Linked DNA regions of Homo sapiens: all the other regions are linked to region 3. Evidence: promoter capture Hi-C in 16 types of primary human blood cells and fetal thymus (Javierre and others, 2016). All regions are on one chromosome and are shown on one strand. The core of a region is centred on a gene start or on the middle of the fragment in contact, and the rest is flanking DNA. Distances in the headings are between cores, read along the strand shown.

Region 1 (3,332 bases), core at 572-3,071, 210 kb before region 3:
CACTAAGGTAGCCAGAGGAGCACAGGTATTCTGGGGGGATGGAGCCACAGGGCAATTTTCTGAAGCTGTAGGAACCAAGGGTAAAGTAGTAAGAGTACCTTCCTTAACTGGGTGGTTTTTAGGAGCTAAAGAGACAGTTCCTTCTAGAAAAGGGCTGGCTGTAGTTGTATAAGTTGAGGTACCTTTGGCAGTTGTGGGAGCCACCCCGGCAGGGTCAGCACTTTCCAAAGGAAATGCAGCCACTGTTGGGGTAATGAGAGAACTTTTGAGAAGCGGACCAGCAGAGTCTGGGCCTGCATAAGAATCTGTCTTGATTACAGAGGCCGAGGAGTTAACACCCAGAGGGGAGGTCATACTGCTGGCTGGCTTACCTATAGGGAGAGGCTCCCCAAGGCTTTTCTTTGCTAGGGTGGCTTCAGGAGAAAGAGGTATCTCTGGAGAAGAGGATGTACTTTGGAAAGAAGGGGAATTTTTAGGGGCTGCCTGGACTAACGGTAATACAGTAGGGTCTTTCTTGGTGGTGAGTCCTGCTTGGGCTGGAGAGAAAGGGGCTCCTTCAAGAGAGGCAGGTACAGTTTGGAGGTCTTTTTGTGTTGGAAATTTAACCAATACTGAACTGGGGAGATTTTTGAGGTCTTCAGGGTCTGGCAGAGGAGGAGAGACTGGTATCCTCAGAGTGGTTGCTACTTGAGTAGAAGGCTCTTTGGGAGCCACAGGTGCCATAACCAAGGCAGCAGGGGAAGTTGGTTCTATGTTACTTATGGGACCTGATGACATTGGAGGAGAAACACAAGTAGCTACCTCAAAGGTAGTAGTAGGTGCTGCAGCAATTGTACAGGGGTTAGTCACCACAAGTGGGGTGGTTCCAACAGAAGAAACGGGCATTTGGGCCACTAAAGGATAATGATAAGTGGCATTAGGAGAGCTTTTGAGAATGAGAGAGGTTGTAGGAGATAATGAAAAAGAGGTAGCTACATTTAAGGAGCCAGAAGGGCTGCAGGTTATGCTAGAGATGGTAGAGGGACCTTTGTCAACAGATGGAGCCACCACTGGAAAGGCAGCCACAGTAGCAGGAACTACCTCATTTCTGGAAGGAAGGGGAGGAATTACAGATCTCTGAGAAGGATAAGAGGCCCCTGTGGAAGAATGATCTACAGAAATGGTCTTCACTGTAGGGTCTGACAAAGCACTAGGACCTGTTTGACCTAAAAGTTGGACAGAACCAAAAGAACTCTGATGTAAAGGTGCAAGATGAGAGCCCAGAGAAATGGGAAAATCTGGGGGGGTGTTGGGACCCGCAGTCTTTTGAGAAGAGGTCACCACAGGAAGAGACTGAGTTGAAAGAGATAAGGCAGCAGGTGGACTAACAGGCCCCTTCAGGCTGAGGCTTCCTGGGTTTTGTGGAGAAATCAGAACTGAGGAAATGGTGGTATCTTTGACTTGAGGGGAAGCGATGGCTAGGGTAGTTGTGGGTGTTGTCTGAGGAAGGGAGGCCACTCCAGATTGAATAGAGGCCATGGGAGTCACACAGTGGTAAGGAACAGTACTGACTATACATGGAGGGCTGGGGGTGCCTTTTGGATTAGGGACTACCTCAGAGGGAACTTTATTAAGATTAGTCTTTGGTTCTGAGGGAGCAATGGGAGCTGACAGAGTTATCACTGACCCTGACTCAGCTACAGCCACTGAAGGAGGTGAAGTAAGAAGGTTAGGTGGAAAAGCAGAACTCTTCTGAACTGAGTGGGGAGCCAGGGCAACCAGAGCTAAGGGAGCTGAAGAGGAAGGGGTCCCTTTCAGAGTTGGAGCTATCATGGGAGAGGCTAGAGCTAAGGCAGCTGGGGAGATGGGAGGCCCTATTAGGTTTGGTAGGAAGGTTGGGGCTTCAGGGGCAGTTCCCAAAGGTAGGGCTGTTCCAGAGGATGACTGGGGAAAAGGAACTTCTAAAGGGGTCGAGGCAATAGTAGAGGGGGAAGGGAATGGGGAAGCCTGGTTAGCAGCTGAGAGAGGGCACTGTTGTGGGGCAGGAGAGCAAGGAGGGGGGAGGGTAGGTCCAGGCTGCCCTAAGGCAGCAGTGACACTCAAGGCTGAAGACATAGGTAGCACAGCTGGAGAAAGGCAAAAGGAGATAAAGAAAGGGGGAGGGGGAGGAGAAAAAAGGTGAGTTATGCAGCCCAACTTGGTACAACATGCCTCCTAGGAAACACTGGAGTTTAAAATCTGACAGTCTAAGTCACCACGCAGGATTAGATAAAGGTGACAGGCAACAACAACCTTCCCCAAACATTTTTCAGTGGTCAAGTGAGAAGACATTCCCCTCCTAATTTCTCACACTTCCCCAAGTTCTACCAAAGTAAACCAACTATTTTAGGGTGAGGAGAACAGTCTAAGAGCAGCCTATCTCTAAATGGGGAGCACAGACTCTTGGTAGGTTGAGAACAACATGCTTTCTATCCTTTCCCAGTTGTGCCCTCCCCTTACTTCTTGAAATGGACTGTATTCCCAAGTCTTTCTCACAGCCAACAGAATTCCCACGAGAAGAACAGCTGTGCTACTCTGTCCACCCAAATATCATGAACAGAAAAGATACTGAAAACTGGAACAAAGAAGTTAGTGAGCAGTGACGATGATGGGGAATCTGAACTGAATAAGAAAACACAGGCTTTTATACTTTCAGGCTTCCACTAGGCTAGGAAACATCTGACTCTGTTAGAATAGTTTTGGGAAGGAGGTGCACAGCACAATTCAGTTCTTCCTAAAGTTGAAACACTTCAGAATTTAATATCAAGTATTAAAGTCACTTAGCTTCTTTATACCTTACCAGTTTACTTACTCACAAAACCCAAACAAGAAAACCAACCACAAAAGGACTGTAATAGTCTCTATAAACCTTCCTAGGTGATGTTAATTCTTCAGACATCAATCCAAGATGAATTAGACATGAATTAGACCTCCAGGCAGAGAGCTTACTCACAAGGGTAGGGACTGTATTATGAAACTGTAACCTAACTTGTTAAACCAGATTGTGGTGCTATTTTGGAAGAAGAGAATTGGAGAGCCTGTAACAGTGGCTCATGCCTGTAATCCCAGCACTTCGGGATGCCTGGGAGGGCGGATCACGAGGTCAGGAGTTCCAGACCGACCTGACCAACATGGTGAAACCCCGTCTCTACTAAAAATACAAAAATTAGCTGGGCGTGGTGGTGTACACCTGTAATACCAGCTACTCAGGAGGCAGAGGCAGGAGAATGGCTTGAACCCAGGAGGTGGAGGTTGCAGTGAGCCAAGATCGCGCTACTGCATGCACTCCAGCCTGGGTGACAGGGTGAGACTCC
Region 2 (3,689 bases), core at 397-2,896, 130 kb before region 3:
TCAGGCATTTAGATGCTGCCCATGGTTGCATTCTTGGTTCACCTGGGCACACTCAGTTTATATAACTTGCAACCTGGGGTCAATAGCAATTGAAAAACAACACATTATTTTATTATACAAAGTGGAACCAGATTGCGCTAATTTTGAGGGTAATGGATATTGCTGGGAAGTTTCTTGTGGCCAAACACTGTTTTAAAGAATTTTTTTCAAGCTGATTATTAACAGGAAGACCTTTTAATCCTGCCAACTGATCTAAGTAAAGTGTAGAATGTTTGGAGGGCATCGGCATTACGAAAGACCTTAGTCCTTGGGAAGAAATGAATAAATGTGTCAATAAAATTTTAACCTAGATACAAGATCTTGTACCTAGTAGTTATTCAATAAATATTTGCTGAATGAAGCAAACACAGAAAATATAAAATTATGTGAAGTGTAAAGTCTGTTTTTCTGATGCTTTGTGAGGGAGAGATTATTTTTAAAATGTATTTATTTATTTTTAACTTTTTAAAAATTAAACTTTTTTTCTTTTCTTTTTTTTGAGACAGGGTCTCATCTTGTCACCCAGACTGGAGTGCAGTGGTGTAGTCTCAGCTCAGTGCTCACTGTAGCCTTGACCTCCCAGGTTCAAGCAATCCCCCTGCTTCAGCCCCCAAAGTTGTTGGAACTACAGGCACACACCACCACACCCGGCAACTTTTTGTATTTTTTGTAGAGATGGGGTTTCACCATGTTACCTAGGCTGGCCCCAAATTCCTGGGCTCAAGCAATTAACTTGCCTGGACCTCCCAAAATGCTAGGATTACAGGCATGAGCTACCATGCCCAGCTTACTTTTAACTTTTATTTTAGTTCAGGCTGGGGTACATGTGCAGGTTTGTTAATACAGGCAAACGCATGTCATGGGTGTTTGGTGTACAGACCATTTTGTTACCCAAGTACACTAAGCATAGTACCTGATAGCTATTTTTCCTGATTCTCTTTCTTCCTCCCTCCTGCGTCCCTCAAGCAGGCCCCAGTGTCTGTTATTCCCCTCTTTGTGCCCATGTGTTCTCATTATTTAGCTCCCACTTATATGTGAGAACATGCAGTATTTGGTTTTCTGTTCCTGTGTTAGTTTGCTAGGGATAATGACTTCCAGCTTCATTCATGTTCCTGCAAAGGACATCATCTCGTTCTTTTTTACAGCTGCATAGAATTTCATGGTGTATATGTACCACATTTTCTTTATCCAGTCCACCATTGATGGGTATTTAGGTGGAATCCATGTCTTTGCTATTGTGAGTAGTGCTGCAGTGAACATTAATGTGCATGTGTCTTTATGGTGGAATGATTTATATTCCTCTGGGTATATACCCAGTAATGAGATTGCTGGGTTGAATGGTAGTTCTGAATTCAGTTCTTTGAGGAATTGCCTTACTGTTTTCCACGATGGTTGAGCTAATTTACATTCCAACCAGCAGTGTATAAGCATTCCTTTTTCTTGGCAACCTCGCCAGCATCTGGTATTTTTTGACTTTTTAATAATAGTCATTCTGACTGGTGTGAGATGGTATCTCATTGTATTATGGGATCTTTGGGGTGTTGTTTTTCTAGCCAGGAACCTCTGTGGCTGGTGGCCCCTGTGCCCGAGTTTTGCTCGGGCCCACTGGGCTTGTTTCACCTACTCAGCCTGGCAGGCTGTGTTTGGCTCACCCTACTGGCCTGGGACCCATGCCTGCCAAGGGTGAGTCAGGCATGGAACAGTGAGGAGTGTGTGAGTGAGTGTGGGATCCGGCCACTGTGCACAGTCAGACGTACCAGCTGCCGCAGTGGGCCGGGCAGCTCCAGGTGCTGGCATGGGCTCTGGCTCTCTGTGAGGCTGCAGCTAGACCAGGCACACTGCAAGCAGCTTCTACGGCTGGCACTGGAGGACACATTGGCACCCAGAAGCTCGGAGATGCCAGGAACCACAGGGCCCCAAAATAGGAGTCACAGCCCTGGTCTGGGGAACTCCCAGGTCTGGGTTCCCCAAAGGGCTGCAGCTCTTCTTTTCTTCTCTTTGCCCACAATGAGGCAAGCAAGGGGCATGTCTCAGCCCTGTTTGTGTTACAGCTCTTTTATCCTTGCCATTCAGTGGGTCCTGAGTTCTTGTCCTGTGACCAGGAAGAATGAGGTAGGCAGAAAAGAGGAGAGTGAGTAAGATGAAGGGGAGCTTTATTGAGTGATAGAACAGCTCAGAGGAAACCTGCAGGGGGCAGCTACTTTCTGCAGCCAGGGTGTCTTGATGAGTGTTCAGCTCCTAGCAGAGAGGGTAGCTCCTCTCTGCTAGGCAATTCATCCTGACAAGTGTTCAGGTATCAGCAGAGAGAGTAGCTTTTGTCTGCAGGCAGGTCATCCCAACATCTGCTCAGCTCTGGCTGAACCCAGGGCTTTTATGGGCCTCAGAGGGGAGGAGGTGAGCACTGATTGTTCCATGGGCAGCCATGGATGGGCCTGGAAAAGACACCACAAGTTTCCACTGCAGTCTATGGGAGCAGCAGCCTGGCCCCCAGCCTTCAGGCCCTCCCTGGCCTGAAGGTGGGGCCTCACGTGGGACCCACTCCCTTCCCCCCAGGAACCTGTCTGCCTCCTGCTGCCATTCATGGCACCCAGGCTGTACGTGCCAAGGGGCACCTGCAGGCCAGTGCCAAACTGCCCTTATCACCCCCTCAGCTTCCCTCCTGTGCTCTTTGGCACCCAAGGTCCAGAGGCGGGCTGAAGTGGCAGGGGGCTGGTGTGTCAACACTTCCCTGAGCATGTACACACCTGGCTGGGCTGTGACAGAGCTCAGGCTTGACCATGACTTTGCTCTTAGATCGGAGTGGGTACCGACAGCAGGGAGAAGCCAGGCGGCAGGAGCAGGCACTTCCAAGCCTGTGAGGGCAGGGGGAGAGGACCATCCTGGGTCTCCAAGAGTGCAGGGATGCCTGGGTTCACAGCCACAGTTTGGGTGTCTGCAGCTGCATCCAGGGGGTGGGGGTCCTGCTCTGTGGAGTGGGAGGTCATGCTCTGCAGTCACGACTTGGGTGGCTGCAGCCACGCCTAGGAGGACAGGGCTCCTCCCTGCTCCCAGCACCCCCAAGAGCACAGGGAGGCCTGGGTCTGCAGCCATGACTTGGGCAGCTTAACCTGTGCCCCAGGGGGTGGGGCTTCTTCTTGCTCTGTGCTTTGGGAGGCCCAGTTTGCAGCCATAACTTGGGCAGACTTGTGTCTGCACCTGGGGAGCTCCCACCCTAACAAATCAGAAGGGGCAGGGCTCCCACTTGTCTGAGGCTCCCACCAGCTGCATGGAGTATACAGCTCTGGCTGTACCTCCCTGCTGCAGCCTGTGTGATGGCAGCGGCCACTCTAGATGGCCCACCACTGCCATCAATCACCACTCTGTAGAGGTACATCTAACTGCCGTTAGGATAGGGACAGTGACCATTCTTAACTGCTTCATGCTGACAGGGGGCATTGTTTTTGGGAAAATGGCAGTCAGGTTTTCTCTCAGGGGCCTATATAAGGGTCTCCAGTAAAAGGGAGCCATTGTCCGAGGCTCCATTTGCATGACCATTGGAGTTTGACGGCCCATCCTTTTTGTTTCTTCTGAGCTGCAGTCAGAGATCACTGGTTGGTTCACCCTCACAACTGTCAAAAGCTACAAATATCTCAAAAGGAAAGCTTCCTTGA
Region 3 (3,869 bases), core at 110-2,609:
GCATGAGGCAGGTCCCCACACAGTCCTGGGCCAGCCCCAGTCCACAGCTTCCTTTCCCAATAGGAGCAGCCACTGTGACATACATACTTGCCCTGAAGTCAAATCAACACCCACCATGATGTCAAGAAGAGACCAGATCTCTTTCTCCCCTGCCTGACATAGTCAAGGAGACAAACTGCACCCACTCATGGGATCCAGCCTCCTGTCTCATTCCCCCTCCCCCATCCTGATCCCAACAAGAAATGTGTTTGTATTTCCCCAGGAGCTGATGGTTAGGACTGCTGAAACATCAGAGAGGCACATCCTTTTTTTTTCTTTTTTTTCTTTTTGAGAGGGATTCTTGCTCTGTCACGAGGCTGGAGTGCAGTGGCGCAATCTTGGCTCACTGCAACCTCCGCCTCCCGGGTTCAAGTGATTCTCCTGCCTCAGCCTCCTGAGTAGCTGGGACTACAGGCACGTGCCACCACACCCAGGTAATTTTTATACTTTTTAGTAGAGATGGGGTTTCACCATGTTGGCCGGGATGGTCTCGATCTCTTGACCTCATGATCCTCCCACTTCGGCCTTCCAAAGTGCTGGGCTCATAGGCGTGAGCCACCACGCCCAGCCAGGCACGTCCATTTTTAGAGGTTTGGACACACAGAACACATCTTCCCCCCTCGCTTCCTATTGAGACCTCTTTCCCGTTTCTCTGAGTTTCCAGGACAGAAAACTTCCTTGGGAAATCACCCCTTCATGTGAACAGGCCAAACCATGCAGTGGCTTCCAATCAGATTGAGGCAGGGGCCTTTCCCTACATCACCCCTCCCACCCAATCTGGACATCAGGGTCTCTGATACTGTCAGATGCTTCGGGAGAGAGGAAGAGGAAGAAGGAGAAACCAAGAAAGCCAAAGAATGTAATTCGCCCCACCTTGTTCGCCCACTTTGTCCCTCACCCACTGGGCCGCCGCCTTGATGCTTTCGCTCTTGGTGACATCCAGTAGGGTGGTCTGCAGCCGATAGGAGGTATCCCGCTGAAGTTTCTGGGATCCCTCCTCAGTGAAGCAAGCAGCCAGCACCTGCATGCCCCGATCAACCAGCTGTTTGGCCAGCAGGTTCCCGAAGCCAGAGTCACAGCCTGTGATGAAGACGTACTTCTCTGAGAGGTTGCCAACCAGATTGCAGTTCTTGAACCAGCGATACATAAATGAGAGGTCTGTGAGGGCCGCCATAGGGCAAGGGGAATGTGATGGCCAAGAGGGACTGGGCTCAGGAGACAGCAGGGAAGAAGCTGGTCCTCTGAGCCCTAGCAGGCAGTCTGCAGGAAACCACCTGGAAGAAGAACTCTCCTTCCTCCCACAGCTTGCAACAAATCTAGGTCCCTGGGTGAGCCACGCTGTAATTTTTATAGGTGGATGCATCACCACAGCAATTAGCCCAGATGCAAGAAATTCAAGTCCAACCTGAAGCCTTGTCACCTCTGACAGCCCTGGTAGCTGCCTCCCTCTCTCCCCCTGCCCTGATGGGTAAAGCTGCCAAGAATTGGAAATAATCCACTTGTAATGTTGGTGATGAGTGGTGGCTCACCCAGGCGGTGTAAGGCAGGCAAATGAAAGATGAGGACTCACCCCAGACAGCTCCCCTAGAAATCCTGTCCCCACCCTGCCCCCAACCCAGCCTGGGGATTTTGGTCTCCAGGGATCAAAATCATTTGTCGTGAGTGCAGGTATGTAAATAAGTTTATTTTCAGGGAAAATACTCAAGACAAATTTATTAATGTAAAACAAACAACATTGGTTCTGTACCTTCCAAACCCCAAGAGAAACAAGTCGCAGGTCATCAGCTCTCTGGAATTCTTAGGTAAGTCTCCATCATGAGAGAGGATGAAAAGCAATGGATTTCTCCTAGGGTGGATGTACCTCCATTGTCCTGAGGCTAGAGGCAGCAGGGCCCTCCTATAGGGGAGGCTGGCATGTGAAGCTTAGCCACCAGAAAGCAGAAAGACCTGGGGGACTCAGGCCTGACACCCTGTGGGGGTCATACTCAGGTCACCAGTAAGCAGCCCTGGGCAAGATGATGAGGAGGGATCATGAGTTCACTGGGCAGCTGAGGGAATTGTCTGGGCAGAGGCCTTGACTGTAAGAGGGGATGAGATATAGGAGGAGCAGAGAACTGGGGCCAGAGACATAGAAAATTCTCAGGGTCGGGACTTGGAGGAGAAACAGAGATTCTAGGCAATTTAGCAAATAATTTACAGAAAGCTAAGAGGTAAGGTGGTAAAGGAAAGGAAATAAGGAAACCAGAGGTGTGAGTAGTGAGGGGCCACACCCAGAATTGCATAAGATGCAGGGAATGATGCTGGAGCCTCTGTGGTTCTTTGGATCAACATCTAGGGTCACCATTCCTTGGGATGAGCCTGGTCCTAGCTCACACCTTCATGGCTTAGCGAGTCTGACACAGAAATGGGACCACAAAGTTCTCTAGTGTGAAGGGACAAAGGATGTATCTCTGTGATCCACCATTTGCCAAGTCTGACCAGCGTGGAATCACATAAAGCAGGTGTCACCCTGGGAAAGCCCCGCAGGGTTTGGCCGTTCCTTAACAAAGTAGGGGAGGGGGCCAGATTATGAACCCACCCCCAAAGAGCAGACCTAAAGCTTATAGGGGATGGAGGTGGGAAATGGTAGAAAGCAAACCACACCTACTTCATAACCAACCTGAGGCAGAGCACCTCCTATGCGGGATCTGGGAACAATCTCCCAGTCTCTGTCTGCCTCCTGGGTGAATGAACAGAGAAGTCTTGGCTGAAACAGGTCAGACCATGTCACTCAAGACTGAGCAGGTCCGGGGCATTGGGTATCCCAGTCCTTGAGGACACAGGTGAGGTCCAGGAGTTGGGTCTGACTTAGCATAAGGATAACTCAGAACTGCCCCAGCACAGGCCTGGGCCTGACTCAGCACCTCCTGGGCCTCTATGCTGGCAGTGTTCCCCTGGCCTCAAACTAAACACACAGTCCATGAGGGTGGGGGGTGTGAGGGAGGTAGGACCACATAGAAGGCTCTTCTTCCCAGGGCTAGAAATGCCTCCCTCTCTCAGATGACAGCATTCCTTGCCAAGCTGGCCCCTAAGGTCTGATAGGTCAGGTTGGTAGCTGCACTCCCCATCCCCACCCCATGCACACAGGTATCTCAGAGGAGAGGAGCCCTCTCCTCTGCCAGGCCATTTCCCTCCAGTGGGAGAGCATAGACTGCTGAGGTCCAAGACACACCCTGATGAGGTAGACAGGAGGAAGAGCAGGTGTGGGCTCACCCACCCCCAGTTGCTCAAGACCTTCCACAAGTGTGGATTCTTCAGGTTGACAGGTGGGCCATGAAGCTCAGAGCCCAAGGAAGTGGGATGCCATTATCTGTGATTGGGTCTCCCTTCCTAAGCAGCAAAATGTGGTTCTTTCCTCCTAATATCACCAGAGTCCTGAATAACGTCCCAGAAAAAAACTAGAACAGAGGTGAGGGAAGTGAGGTACATGACCCTGAACTTGAGAGCTCCCTCCCACCACTCTATTTCTCACCCCATGAAACAGCACCCCTCCCAAGTGCAATGATGTTAAAGTGAGGGCCGGTCACTGAGTGCTACAAAGAGGTCGCTACAAAGTGCTACAAAGAGGCCTGCCAGTGCCTTTGTGACATGTCATTGCTTCCTTGTCCCTCTGTGCACTCCTGTGACCCCAGGCTACTTGATTCACTCCTGGAAAGGAAACAATTGCCCCTCACCTTGGTGGCAGAAAGGGCTGAGACAGGGCAGGGATAATCCAACTTCTCTCTTCAATTTCCTCCTGAGTTCATCCCTCTTATCCCCAGATCCCCATGAAGGCACCTGCCTCCTCCTCC
Region 4 (3,871 bases), core at 1,338-3,837, 160 kb before region 3:
GCAGAAGAAAGAGGATAGAAGACAATACAGAGAAATTTAGAGCAGAGGTAGCCTCACTGGGCCCTGGAACCCCCTGAGATGACAGGCAAAATGTTGTGGGTAGGAATTAGAGTGTCCAGGTTGAGCAGATCTGGATTTTGGCAGGGAAGCAACGTGTATGCTCATCTGTGGAAGGAGAGCTAGGTAAACATGAGGTTGGGAAATTTTGAAGGCTAGTAAAGATTTGGAACAGGTGTTGTTGCGAAATAATAAGGGAGGAGTCAAATGGAGGCAAACAGAAGGTTTGCCTTATATTGGCGGTGGGCGGGGGGGAGGGGGCGCAGCTGAGATAGGATAACATTGATTTGTTGTATAAAAGTTTGTTTTCTGGTCTTTCTCTAGCACCACTTGGCAGCTGGCAGCTAGAGAACATGGATGGTAAAGGCTTTGGGGTGCTAGTGAAGCACCCCTAAAATGGCCAACTATGAGACCTGTGCTGAATAAGGAGGCAAATGAAACTGTGAGAGGATTGCAGTAATAGAGAGAGACTGAGGAAAAGGAAGGCAGAGCAGGAAGAAAGAAGTAGAGGGGAGTGGGGGGAGGGGAAGAGCCCCAAAGATAGGATGGGGCTGTGCAGAGAGGGCAGTTTCAGCTTTTCAAGGTTTTTTTTTTTTTTTTTGAGGCAGAGTCTCACTCTGTCACTTAAGCTGGAGTGCAGTGGCGTGATCTTGGCTTACTGCAACCTCTGCCTCCCAGGTTTAAGCGATTCTTGTGCCTCCGCCTCCCAAGTAGCTGGGACTACAGGCACTGCCACCACACTCAGCTAATTTTTGTATTTTTAGTAGAGATGGGGCTTAGTCATGTTGCCCAGGCTGGTCTCGAACTCCTGACCTCAGGTGATCTGCCTGCCTCAGCTTCCCAAAGTGCTGGGATTACAGGCGTGAGCCACCGTGCCTGGCCTAGCTTTTCAAGATCTTTGTGGGAGAGTAGCTTCAAGCAATGATGAAGCCCAAGATGGGGATCAGACCTGAAATAAACAGTGGAAGTTCTTAACCTATGCATGTGTGATTATGAAGGTGTTTTCTAGGCTCGACCTCAAAACTCATTAAATAAAATTAACCAGATAGCATAGTGTAGATGAGAAAGGAAGAGACTGACAATATGATGTAAGAAAGCTGAATTCTTATTTACCATAGCAGGAAGTTAATTGAGAATGTCAAAAATTGGTAAATCAAGAAATAGCAGCTTAAGTACTGTGTATAAATAATTTGAGTCAAAGGCAAAAACGTAAAGTAATTGCACAGCTTTTGCAGATGAATGGTTTGTAAAAGCAAGCAGGCCACGCCACTTCGGGTATTTGGACATTTGAAATATTCGAGGCACATTCAGGTTTGGCCTAGGGTTTGGGATTCCGCCAGGTGTATCTCTTCTGCAGGTCTTCTTGCTGCTAGGCATGCGATGGCTGAATAGTAATGCCCGGGGAAACTGTGAGGGCCAAGCTTCTCTCTAATGGGGGAAATACGTTTTCATCTTTGACTGGCAACAGAAAATTACCTTTTAGTCAATAAACAGTCAGGTTGAAGCTCTCTGTGTTACTGTAGTGCACCAGGGAATGCCACTTAGGCAGAACAGAGGCAGCTGGCTAGAGAACACAGAGCTCTCAGATTGGAGAGAGGCAAAGGGCTTCAGAGAAGGAAGGAGAGAGACAGAGGGAAGAGGGGAAAAGGAGAGAAAGAGAAGATGGTGGGGGAGGGAGGAGCAATATATGCCTCTCTCCACTGTTTTCTCCCTTTCACTGTCTCCTTCCACTTTACTTGCCTACACCCTAAGTTGCCCTCTCGCTACTTACTGCCTTCTCTCCTCTCCTTCCCAGACCAGGCTTTTGAAAAAGAGTCTCCACTCGGCTCCACTTCCTGCCCTCCAATTCATGCAGCAGCCCACTGAAGATTGGCTTCTGTGCCCTTCACTGTCTGAGTCTTCCCGTTAAGAGCACCAGTGCCCTCCTATTACCCAGCAGACCTCCTGGTTGCATTGCTGATCCTCATTAAGCCCCCCTTTCCTTGGCTTTCATCAGCTTGCTTTTTCCTACTTCTCTGGCTCATTCTCCCTGCTTTTTTTCTCTCAATTTTTTATCAGGATATTTTTACTTAGTATAACTTAATTTATCTAACATTTATTAAGTATCTGCTATGTGCCATTCACTGGGCCAGGTGCAGACTAATATGTAACCTGGGCTCTCAAGGGCCTTATAGTCTAAAAATGGGGAAGAGCAGTGCAATGAAGTACAGCAGGCATCATGATAAACCCAGGCCACAATGGGGACACTAAGGAGGGTATAGTCAATTCTGTTAGACCATGGGGCAGGTTAAATCAGGGCAGGAAAGTCTCTTGCCTGGACCATTTTTTGTCCCCTCTGTCTAGTACTGTATGTAATCTCTCAGTGCTCACCTATGAAACAGTGTGGCAGCCATTGAGGTGCATTGCTCAGATCACTCAAGAAAATCTGCTATGAGGAGTGAGGTTGACTTCCAGCCTCCAGTTGTGGCACCCTCCGATCTGCTGTGGTATTTACACTGAGGCACGCTCCTCTTGGGCACTGGTCAGCCAATGACCAGAAGGATGGCAGTACTGGAGCTGGACCAGTTCAGCCCAGTGTGGAACTTCTCCAGTGGCAGTCTTTGCTCAGGCTCATGGGCCTGGCTGAGACTTTCTTGGGGCTCTACTACAGTCTAAAGCTCTTCCTATCTTCTCCTCCTTCTGTTCCCCTCTCCTTCCCGAGGTGTCAGATCTGCATTACCACCTATTCCTGTGCCTTCCCCCTTTGTCCTCTGAGGGTGTTTCCCCCATAATCTCTTGCATGTCTAATTTTGTCTTGGTATCTGAACTGACACAGAGGAATAATGATGGGACCTGTCTTGTAGGGTTCTTGTGAGAATTCAAAAAGTTAATATATGTGACATCTTAGAACAGAGCCTGATACACAGCAAGTGCTCGGCAAGGGTTGCAATTTTTTTTTTTTTTTTTTTTTTTTGAGATGGGCAGAATCTCGCTCTGTCACCCAGGCTGGAATGCAATGGCATGATCTCGGCTCACTGCAACCTCCACCTCCCGGGTTCAAGCGATTCTCCTGCCTCAGCCTCCCAAGTAGCTGGGATTACAGGCGCCCACAATCATGCCTGGCTAATTTTTGTATTTTTGTAGAGATGCGGTTTCGCCATGTTGACCAGGCTGATCTCAAACTCCTGACCTCAGGTGATCTGCCTGCCTTGGCCTCCCAACATGCTGAGATTACAGGCATGTGCCAGTGTGCCTGGCCTAGCTATTATTTTTTAATTATCCTTTTGATATGGTTTGGCTTTGTGTCGCTACCCAAATCATATCTTGAATTGTAATTCCTAGGTGTTTAGGGAGGAACCTGGTGGGAGGTGATTGGATCATGGGGGTGGTTTCCCCCATGTTGAGTTCTCATGAGAGCTGATGGTTTTATAAGCGTTTGGTAGTTCCTCTCTTGCTTGCTTTTGCTTTCCTGCCATCATGTGTTTGCTTCCCCTTCTACCATGATTGTAATTTTCCTGAGACCTCCCCAGCCATGTGGAACTGTGAATCAATTAAACCTCTTTTCTTTATAAATTACCCAGTCTCGGGTGGTATCTTTATAGCTGTGTGAAAACGGACTAGTACACCTGTAGATCTCAACTTATATTTTATTCTCTCTAGGAAGCTTCTCAGACCTCTCTAAACTGCCTTAGAAGCCTCTCCTGAGTGTTCCAGCAGCCTCCTGTTTTTACTTCTGTTATAATGCATTGTTGTCAGTCTTCATAATGAGACTGTGAATTCAATGAAAAATGGACTATGTATTGTTCACTCTTGTGTATCAGTGCCTAACACTGTG
Region 5 (3,638 bases), core at 323-2,822, 150 kb before region 3:
GAATATCTCAATAATGTTAAAAAAATTTCCAGTTGAAAAAGTATATTCCCATATCTGTGTTGTTCTAAACCTATTTAAAAATCCTCTAGTAACAGAATTAAGTTGTGTGTTTTTTTTTTTTTTTTTTGAGACAGAGTCTCGCTCTGTCACCCAGGCTGGAGTGCAGTGGCGTGATCTTGGCTCACTGCAACCTCTGCCTCCCGGGTTCAAGCAATTCTCTTGTCTCAGCTTCCTGAGTAACTGGGACTACAGGCATGCACCACCAAGCCTGGCTAATTTTTGTATTTTTAGTAGACATGGGGTTTCACCATGTTGGCCATGCCGGTCTCGAACTCCTGACCCCAAATTATCCACCCACCTCGGCCTCCCAAAGTGCTGGGATTACAGGCATGAGCCACTGCACCCAGCCATCAGAATTGAGTTTTGAGGCCAGGCGTGGTGCCTCACACCTATAATTCCAGCACTTTGGGAGGCTGATGTGGGAGGATCGCTTGAGCCCAGGAATTCAAGACCAGCCTGGGCAACATAGTGAGACCTTGTGTCTACAAAAAATAAACAAAATTAGCTGGGCATGGGGATGCGAACCTGTAGTCCCAGCTATGTGGGAAGCTGAGGAGGGAGGATCACGAGCCTGGGAGGCAGAGGTTGCAGTGAGCTGAGATTGTACCACTACACTCCAACCTGGGTGACAGAGCAAGACCCTGTCTCAAAAGAAACCCCAAAAAACAACCAAACAAAAAAAGAAAAATGATTGAGTTTTAAAATTAAAATTAAATAAAATCCAAAATTTAGTTTTTATTCCAGTGCATTAGCTATTGTTTAAGTGCTCAATAGCTACATGTGGCTAGTGGCTATCATATTGGGATGCACATTCTAGATCATTCTATTTTGTAGAAATTAGATGTGGTGAGACTTCTGTGACTGCATGATCTTAAAAATATAAGGAATAAGATTGTTGACCACCATTTCTTTTTTTGTATACAGTTTACAATATCATGAAGGAAGGGCTGTTGAATTGTAGCACAAACCTGAACCTGGTCACTGACTGCATGGAACATGCTCTGACATCGGTGCATCCGCGAACTCGATATTCAGCTGGCTGGGATGCTAAATTTTTCTTCATCCCTCTATCTTATTTACCTACATCACTGGCAGACTACATTTTGACTAGATCTTGGCCCAAACCAGCCCAGGCAGTCTAAAGAAAACTGGGTTGGTGCTTCTTGGAATGAAGGCAAAAATCTGAAATTGTTAGTGTCTCAGTAATCCTGATTTAGAACCCAGGCTTTTTGTAACAATGTGTTTTCTTGCCTAAATTCATTTATCTGGCATCATCAGAGTACTAACATGTTTATATTTCAGATATCCAAAGCTTACCACTTTAGGTGATGAATCTTTACTATTTTAGCCCTTTTTTGATGAGACTATTTGTCTAAAGTGAATCATTTGTTCTTGCCTTATTAAACAGAGTAGATGGAAAACAATTTAACCTATTTTGAAGTCATTTCTTTATGAATATGAATAATTGTTCTATGCTTTAATAATCTATTGTGAGGAAACTACTAAGAAATATGTTGGTGTGTTTGTCCTTACTTGAAATGGGTCTGTATTATGGTACTTTTAATAAATATTTGATTTTTCTTTCTCTTCTCTTTTTGTCAGCAGTCTTTTTTCCCCAATATATTTCTTCCTTTTTTAAAAAGAAATTACTTTTTAAATTTTAAATCAAAATAATGTTATACATATATAGCTAAAAATTCAATTAATATTCAAAAGCTTAAAATGAAAAATGGCAATCCTTGCCCTTATCCTCATCCTTCATTGCTGCTCGTCAGAGGCAAATGGTCTCAACTTTTAGCTATTTCTTCTGGTATTTATCTCTGAACTTCTAAATGATATACTGTTATTTTTTATTAATTTTAGCTATTCTCAATTGACTTTCTGTTATGGTGCAAATTTGGCTTTTTTTTACATCACTTTCCTGCCCATTTCCTTTATCCTTATAGTTTGAATATAATTTTATCACATTTCTGGTTAAATGAATAGTGTTTATATAATTAAGTATGTGAATATTATTAACTATTTAATCAAGTATTTTTCTTTTATAGTAACATTTTTTGTTTTTCTTGGAGTTAATTATTGCCTTGCTTTTTTGCTTGCAAAGGTTTTTATTTACCTTAACCTTTTTTTGGTTGTTCTCTCAGATCTGTCACTACCAGTAGTGTTCTCTAAATAATTAAATAGATTATAGACTTATTCAGTCTATTTCAACCCCCCAACCCTCCTGTCCCTGGAGATTTCCCTCTCACTGCTTTCTTTTTTTTTTTTTTTTCTAATTGATCATTCTTGGGTGTTTCTCGCAGATGGGGATTTGGCAGGGTCATAGGACAATAGTGGAGGGAAGGTCAGCAGATAAACAAGTGAACAAAGGTCTCTGGTTTTCCTAGGCAGAGGACCCTGCGGCCTTCTGCAGTGTTTGTGTCCCTGGGTACTTGAGATTAGGGAGTGGTGATGACTCTTAACGAGCATGCTGCCTTCAAGCATCTGTTTAACAAAGCACATCTTGCACCGCCCTTAATCCATTTAACCCTGAGTGGACACAGCACATGTTTCAGAGAGCACAGGGTTGGGGGTAAGGTCATAGATCAACAGGATCCCAAGGCAGAAGAATTTTTCTTAGTACAGAACAAAATGAAAAGTCTCCCATGTCTACTTCTTTCTACACAGACACGGCAACCATCCGATTTCTCAATCTTTTCCCCACCTTTCCCCCTTTTCTATTCCACAAAACCGCCATCGTCATCATGGCCCGTTCTCAATGAGCTGTTGGGTACACCTCCCAGACGGGGTGGTGGCCGGGCAGAGGGGCTCCTCACTTCCCAGTAGGGGCGGCCGGGCAGAGGCGCCCCTCACCTCCCGGACGGGGCGGCCGGGCGGGGGGCTGACCCCCCCACCTCCCTCCTGGACGGGGCGGCTGGCCAGGCGGGGGCCTGAGCCCCCCACCTCCCTCCCGGACGGGGCGGCTGGCCGGGCAGGGGGCTGAGCCCCCCACCTCCCTCCCGGACGGGGCGGCTGGCCGGGCAGAGGGGCTCCTCACTTCCCAGTAGGGGCGGCTGGGCAGAGGTGCCCCTCACCTCCCGGATGGGGCAGCTGGCCGGGCGGGGAGCTGAGCCCCCCACCTCCCTCCCGGATGGGGCGGCCAGCCGGGCGGGGGGCTGAACCCCCCCCACCTCCCTCCCGGACAGGACGGCTGGCCGGGCGGGGGGCTGACCCCCCCACCTCCCTCCCGGACGGGGCGGCTGGACGGGCGGGGGGCTGAGCCCTCCTCCTCCCTCCCGGACGGGGCGGCTGGCCGGGCGGGGGGGGGCTGACCCCCCCCACCTCCCTCCCGGACGGGACGGCTGGCCGGGCGGGGGGCTGACCCCCCTCACCTCCCTCCCGGAGGGGACGGCTGGCCGGGCAGAGGGGCTCCTCACTTCCCAGTAGGGGCGGCCGGGCAGAGGCACCCCTCACCTCCCGGACGGGGCGGCTGGCCGGGCGGAGGCGCCCCCCCCACCTCCCTCCCGGACGGGGCGGCAGGCCGGGCGGGGGCTGACCCCCCACCTCCCTCCTGGATGGGGTGGCTGCCGGGCGGAGAT

What was found. The method cuts DNA at HindIII sites, captures the fragments that hold promoters and counts their contacts. A CHiCAGO score of 5 or more calls a contact.
Region 1: a contact is called between a fragment that was not itself captured here and the fragment with the promoter of SDR9C7 in region 3, in 1 of 17 cell types (M1 macrophages). The highest score is 5.1, in M1 macrophages.
Region 2: a contact is called between a fragment that was not itself captured here and the fragment with the promoter of SDR9C7 in region 3, in 10 of 17 cell types (M1 macrophages, endothelial precursors, total B cells and 7 more). The highest score is 8.0, in M1 macrophages.
Region 4: a contact is called between a fragment that was not itself captured here and the fragment with the promoter of SDR9C7 in region 3, in 9 of 17 cell types (erythroblasts, M2 macrophages, M1 macrophages and 6 more). The highest score is 9.3, in erythroblasts.
Region 5: a contact is called between a fragment that was not itself captured here and the fragment with the promoter of SDR9C7 in region 3, in 4 of 17 cell types (endothelial precursors, total CD8 T cells, M2 macrophages and 1 more). The highest score is 7.6, in endothelial precursors.

The regions. Positions count from the first base shown.
Region 1 is chr12:56,719,355-56,722,686 of GRCh38, forward strand. NACA (nascent polypeptide associated complex subunit alpha) reads right to left here. Exons shown (of 9, transcript NM_001365896.1): 3 at 1-2,105. Among named protein-coding and RNA genes, the nearest start is that of NACA, 4.3 kb to the right of the region's middle. RefSeq lists an enhancer at 1,462-1,581. The HindIII fragment of the contact is 4,291 bases long and covers 1-3,332 here.
Region 2 is chr12:56,802,150-56,805,838 of GRCh38, forward strand. No RefSeq gene overlaps it. Among named protein-coding and RNA genes, the nearest start is that of HSD17B6, 41 kb to the left of the region's middle. RefSeq lists an enhancer at 2,521-3,170. The HindIII fragment of the contact is 4,063 bases long and covers 1-3,678 here.
Region 3 is chr12:56,933,049-56,936,917 of GRCh38, forward strand. It overlaps SDR9C7 (short chain dehydrogenase/reductase family 9C member 7), which reads right to left and starts at 1,360. Exons shown (of 4, transcript NM_148897.3): 1 at 913-1,360. The coding sequence starts at 1,213. The HindIII fragment of the contact is 2,217 bases long and covers 1-1,959 here.
Region 4 is chr12:56,768,463-56,772,333 of GRCh38, forward strand. The region is part of intron 1 of HSD17B6 (hydroxysteroid 17-beta dehydrogenase 6); the gene reads left to right. Among named protein-coding and RNA genes, the nearest start is that of HSD17B6, 7.1 kb to the left of the region's middle. The HindIII fragment of the contact is 2,222 bases long and covers 1,477-3,698 here.
Region 5 is chr12:56,786,141-56,789,778 of GRCh38, forward strand. It overlaps HSD17B6 (hydroxysteroid 17-beta dehydrogenase 6), which reads left to right. Exons shown (of 5, transcript NM_003725.4): 5 at 985-1,650. The coding sequence ends at 1,202. Among named protein-coding and RNA genes, the nearest start is that of HSD17B6, 25 kb to the left of the region's middle. The HindIII fragment of the contact is 404 bases long and covers 1,371-1,774 here.